Regions from separate parts of the Homo sapiens genome. Here region 1 is linked to region 2. Evidence: promoter capture Hi-C in 16 types of primary human blood cells and fetal thymus (Javierre and others, 2016). All regions are on one chromosome and are shown on one strand. The core of a region is centred on a gene start or on the middle of the fragment in contact, and the rest is flanking DNA. Distances in the headings are between cores, read along the strand shown. Region 1 holds the start of PPP1R9B (protein phosphatase 1 regulatory subunit 9B). Region 2 overlaps PDK2 (pyruvate dehydrogenase kinase 2).

Region 1 (2,700 bases), core at 45-2,544, 40 kb before region 2:
TTTCTGGGTTGCCAGGACAGGGGATGTGTAAGTCACTGTCACCCTCCCCACCCCCCCACCCCAACCGGAACACAGTGGCCAGGATCCTTTAAATCAGAGACCCAAGTTAGAGCTCTCACTGGCGAAACTTTGGCCCCAGGCCTCTCGAATTCCTGCTCCCAAACCCTTCCTTCCGGTTTGAGAGGCAGGAGTGCCAGGGTAGGGGCCTGAAGACGGGTGCACAGCAGACAGGCGACAGGACATCCTTTCCAGACTTCGGCAGTTTTGGTGATCCCCTGCTACTTGGATGACGGGGTTCACCTCCTTTCTTCACCACCCCTCCCCCACCATCGAAAGGTCACCAGCGCTGGACCAAGGTTTCACACCTCCAAGGGGGCCAAAGATTGCCTGTAGTGAAGTGTTAAAATGCAGATTCCTGGGTTCAGCCTCGGAGATTCTCCTTCACAAGGTTCGAGAGAGATCCCAGAAATCTGCATTTTTACCAAGTGCCCAGCGATTCTGATGCTAAAGGCTTGAAGCACACCGAAGAGCTAGCTCCGAGGACACTGAAGAATGAACCTCTGCCCCTCCCTACAAACCCCCTCCCCTCACACTGAGACCATCGTGGATGTACTGCCTCCCCCCAATATTTCATGGAGGTGCGGTTCTGTGGGTTGTGACCGCAGTCAGAAGTTGTGATGGAAGCAGGTTGAAGAGTGCTGGCCAACGTCCGGGGGCAGCGGAAGGCTCTCCGCGAGGGCTGGGGAGGGGAGGGGATCCGTTCGGGTGGAGGGGAAGGGGAGGGCTCACAGGCTCCGGCCCCGGAAATCCGATCCCTTTAGGACCCAGAGGTGCCAGTCCCCCAGCGGCGGCTGCGAGAAGGGCAGCCGCTCGGTCTCCGGCAGCCGCCGCTCGGGCAAAGCCAGAGAAAGACCGAGGCTCGGGGCACGGGGGGGAGGGAGGGAGGGAGGGAGGCGCGGCGGCGGAGCGGCCCGGGCCGGCGGAGCAGCCATGGGCGTTGGGGTGCCGGGCCCCCCGAGAGCCGAGGCCTCCGGCCGGACTGGGGGACGCCCGGGCTGCCAGCCCCGCTGACACCGTCTCGGACGATGTGAGCCGGCGACACCGCGGCTGCTTCGCGGGCAGGGCGCGCGCTCCCACCGGCCCCAGACGCCGCTTTGCTAATTTGGGTGGGGGCGACCGTACCAGGCCGCTCGGGCTTTTGAAGCGGGGCTGGCTGTCTTCGGCAGCTTGATTGGGGGAGGCGACCCACACACAGGGCGCTTGGAGATTTTTTTTTTTTCATTTTTTTTTTTAAAGCGGGATTAACTGTTTTTGGCAGCTTGGTTTTGGGGGGACCCTAAAAAAGGCCTTCGGGGTTTCTTTTATCGGGGGGAGGGGGCGGTGGTCCCGACTTGGCCAGCCGCCTGTTGAAGCGGGGGAGCGGGGAGCAGGGGCATGCGAACCCGGCTCCCCCCACCATGATGAAGACGGAGCCACGGGGGCCCGGGGGTCCCCTCCGGAGCGCCTCCCCGCACCGCAGCGCCTACGAGGCGGGCATCCAGGCGCTGAAGCCGCCCGACGCGCCCGGGCCCGACGAGGCACCCAAGGGGGCCCACCACAAGAAATATGGCTCCAACGTCCACCGCATCAAAAGTATGTTCCTGCAGATGGGCACGACGGCGGGGCCCTCGGGCGAGGCGGGCGGCGGCGCGGGCCTGGCCGAGGCCCCACGGGCGTCCGAGCGCGGCGTGCGCCTGTCGCTGCCGCGGGCCAGCAGCCTGAACGAGAACGTGGACCACAGCGCCCTGCTGAAGCTGGGCACCAGCGTGTCGGAGCGCGTGAGCCGCTTCGACTCCAAGCCCGCGCCCTCCGCGCAGCCTGCGCCGCCGCCGCACCCGCCGTCCCGGCTGCAGGAGACGCGGAAGCTGTTCGAACGGAGCGCCCCAGCGGCCGCAGGCGGCGACAAGGAGGCCGCGGCGCGGCGGCTGCTGAGGCAGGAGCGCGCCGGCCTGCAGGACCGGAAGCTGGACGTCGTGGTGCGCTTCAACGGCAGCACCGAGGCGCTGGACAAGCTGGACGCTGACGCCGTGTCCCCCACGGTCAGCCAGCTCAGCGCCGTCTTCGAGAAGGCCGACTCGAGGACCGGCCTCCACCGCGGGCCCGGGCTCCCCAGGGCCGCAGGGGTTCCCCAGGTCAACTCGAAGCTGGTCAGCAAGCGGTCCCGGGTGTTCCAGCCCCCGCCGCCGCCGCCGCCCGCCCCGTCGGGGGATGCCCCGGCCGAGAAAGAGCGATGCCCCGCAGGGCAGCAGCCCCCGCAGCACCGAGTGGCCCCTGCCCGGCCGCCCCCCAAGCCCCGGGAGGTGCGCAAGATTAAGCCGGTGGAGGTGGAGGAGAGCGGGGAGTCGGAGGCCGAGTCGGCGCCCGGGGAGGTGATCCAGGCCGAGGTTACGGTCCACGCGGCCCTGGAGAATGGCAGCACCGTGGCAACTGCAGCCAGCCCCGCGCCCGAGGAGCCAAAGGCCCAAGCGGCCCCGGAGAAGGAGGCGGCGGCGGTAGCGCCGCCAGAGAGGGGGGTGGGCAATGGCCGGGCCCCGGACGTGGCCCCTGAGGAGGTAGATGAATCCAAGAAGGAGGACTTCTCGGAGGCGGACTTGGTGGACGTGAGCGCCTACAGTGGGCTCGGGGAGGACTCTGCGGGCAGTGCCCTGGAGGAGGACGACG
Region 2 (2,700 bases), core at 185-2,684:
CAGAGCTGGGCTGGGCATTTCAGCAGGAGCCCATGTGGGAGCGGCTCCTCTCCACTCTTCCAGGGGGCTGTGTGGTGGGAGAGCTCTGTCCTGCTCCCCCAAGAGGCCAGTGGGCGCTGCAGCAAGTCGCACTCAGGGTAGACTCCCAGCCAAACTCCTCAACAGGAGCGCAGAGAAAGCAGCCTGGGGCGAGTGCAGTCTTTGCCAGGACTCAAGAGGGGAGGATGAACATCCCCTTCTCCCTCTCCCCTCCTCTGTCCTGTGGGTCCCAGGGGGCGAGATGACACCACACAGGTCTGCCTCTCAGGGCCCATTCAAGACCTGGTCTTTGACCCATTCTCCAAGCCAGGACTCCCTTCACTTCCTGCTGCTTCCTCAGAGGGCACCTAAGTCCTCTTTGGGAGCTGAGCAAACAGGAACTGATAGGGACAGAGGACACCACTTCCACCAGCCAAGGCCTAGGAGCTGCTGACCTGGTCAGCCCTCACCCCAGCCAGGCAGAGAGGCAAAACCTGGGGGTCCCCGGCAGCTACGAGATTGGAAAGGTTCATCAGCCCTCCCCCATCTGCCCCAGGCATTGTCAGGGAATCAGTGGGCTCAGAACTGGCAGGCGGTGCAAGCTCTGCTTCCCTGGGCCACACTGAGGGCTGGGGCCAGCTCCCTGGATGGGGGTGGAGTTTACCAGCAGCCTGGGGACAGCATGTGTCCTTTTTAGGAAATGTCCTTGGAGGAAGTGTTCATGTGTGGCGCTGGTCAGCAGCTAGTCCCGCTTCCAGGACACTGGTCAGAGTTACCGATGAGGCCTGGGGGCTCCCGCTTGGAAACCCCTCCAGCTCCTCCCATCTGCCCAGACAGAGCGGCAGATGGCACCAATGCATGCTGGCTCCCTCATTCCTGCCCAGGGGCTGTGGCTTACGGCCAGCACCCTGTACCTGGGACTCAGCCCTTATCCCCCCTCTGCTATCTGTGCTGGGAGAGGGGCTTCGGAGGGAAACAGATATGAGGACACTGGCACCATCTGGGCCTGGTGGCAGGGCCATGGGAGGTTGGAAGGCACCCACATCCTTAAAGCCATCAGTAGCTATAGTGGGTGCCCACCTGCATGTGAAGGGGAGGCAGTTCTCAATTTATTTCAATAAATCCTTATGATGTGCCAGTGACCAGAATTTCTGTCTGCTCCAGTTGTTGGGTTGGCCGGACTCTGCTGGGCCCTGAGTATGGTGGGACAACAGGTCTGTCACCAGGTGCTGGGCCATCCGGCGTTCTGAACAGATGGCTTTGCCCAGTGTTTTACTCACAGTCCTGAGCTGGGCCGGACGTCCCCGGTGCGTCATGTGGTGGTCACAGGGCACCGCAGTGTGCGTGTGTACGTGCGCACGTGTGGGTCCCCTCCCCCAGGGATGCAGCCAGGCCAGTCTCATTCAGTCTCCTCTTTACTGTGGGTGTGGGTGTCACTGTCACTGCCACAGCCACTGGGAGGGACACACAGCTTTAACCCCTGTGTGCTTAGGGGAAGGGTGGGGGCATTCAGGGTTATAAAACTAACTATATACACAGAAGGTCCTAGGGAGAAAGCCACCCTGAGCACACATGTCTGGGCACAGTGGGGGCTGGGGGCTGGAGCTCAGGCAGGATGGACTAGGCTTGTGGAGGAGCGGGTGGGCATGAGCATGTGAGGACATGCTGGGAGGGCTCAGGAGGTGGCACAGACATTGCCAAGGCCACTGCAGGGCCTCGAGCAGCTTGGCTGGATGGCAAGCTCTCGGTCTAACAAGGTTCTTCCACTTTAGAGTTGGGCCCTGTGAGAGCCACCCCCTCCGCCACCGACCTTCAAGCCCTGAGCGGAGGGAGAGGCTGCAGGACCAGCCTCATTCCCCACTCACGGGTGTAACTCCTTTCCCCACTCAGTCCCCAGGTCTGGAGGGCACCCACCCTCTTCCTAACACTTCAGCAGGCCAAGGCCAGGGTGCCTTTGTGGGCTGGGGGAATAAGGCAACGGGACATCCACTTGGAAGGCCTGTGCTGTGGAGGGTGCTGAGGGGGACCCAGTACCCCTGGCAGAAAAGTGACAGCCCTGGTCTCAGAGAGGAGGACTGCCATGGGAAAATGTCTCTGGGACACCCCATCAGGGTGGAGACATCCCTAACCCTCAGGCATCGCCCACAGAGATAGGGAGGCCACCGAGGGGTCTCCACAGAGATGGACTGGCACTTAGGGACCATCACAGACCTATCACCGCAGTGACTTCCATAGAGACAGAACCTGGTCATCAGGGAGAACCCACCCCCTGCTCCCCCAGGAGGATGGTGAGGGGCACCACGGTGGGGGGACCCAGAGGCGGCAGTCCGTCCTCTCAGGTGCAGATGCACGGCGGCCCTTAGCTGACGCGGTACGTGGACGTGTTCTTGGGCTCCGTGCTGGGCACACACCAGTCGCCGGCCTCCTGGATGGTCTGGTAGTGGCGCCAGGCTGACTTGTTGTAGACAGGCAGGCGCTCCACCGAGTCCGTGGACAGGGCCTGGGGAGTGTCAGGGTCAGCCCCTCCCACCTCCCTGTGCCTTGTCCACTCCTCAGCAGACCACCCCACCCCAGCTCAGCGGCAGCCCAGCTGCCAGACACGGGGGCCTGGAAAGACCACAAAAGGGTGGTCCCTCCTGTGTCCCGCTCCTGCCCATTCAAGCAAGCAGCTCCCTCTAAGGG

What was found. The method cuts DNA at HindIII sites, captures the fragments that hold promoters and counts their contacts. A CHiCAGO score of 5 or more calls a contact.
Region 1: the fragment with the promoter of PPP1R9B here is called in contact with a fragment that was not itself captured in region 2 in 2 of 17 cell types (megakaryocytes and endothelial precursors); the score reaches 9.9 in megakaryocytes.

Annotation. Positions count from the first base shown.
Region 1 is chr17:50,149,271-50,151,970 of GRCh38, reverse strand. PPP1R9B (protein phosphatase 1 regulatory subunit 9B) reads left to right here and starts at 1,294. Exons shown (of 10, transcript NM_032595.5): 1 at 1,294-2,700. The coding sequence starts at 1,458. The region is part of intron 1 of LOC124904025 (a long non-coding RNA gene); the gene reads right to left. RefSeq lists an enhancer at 629-923 and silencers at 934-1,023, 1,094-1,183, 1,833-1,942. The HindIII fragment of the contact is 4,765 bases long and covers 1-2,700 here.
Region 2 is chr17:50,109,775-50,112,474 of GRCh38, reverse strand. PDK2 (pyruvate dehydrogenase kinase 2) reads right to left here. Exons shown (of 11, transcript NM_002611.5): 11 at 323-2,518. The coding sequence ends at 2,378. SAMD14 (sterile alpha motif domain containing 14) reads left to right here. Exons shown (of 10, transcript NM_001257359.2): 10 at 1-2,435. Among named protein-coding and RNA genes, the nearest start is that of PDK2-AS1, 8.7 kb to the right of the region's middle. RefSeq lists an enhancer at 1-678. The HindIII fragment of the contact is 8,208 bases long and covers 1-2,700 here.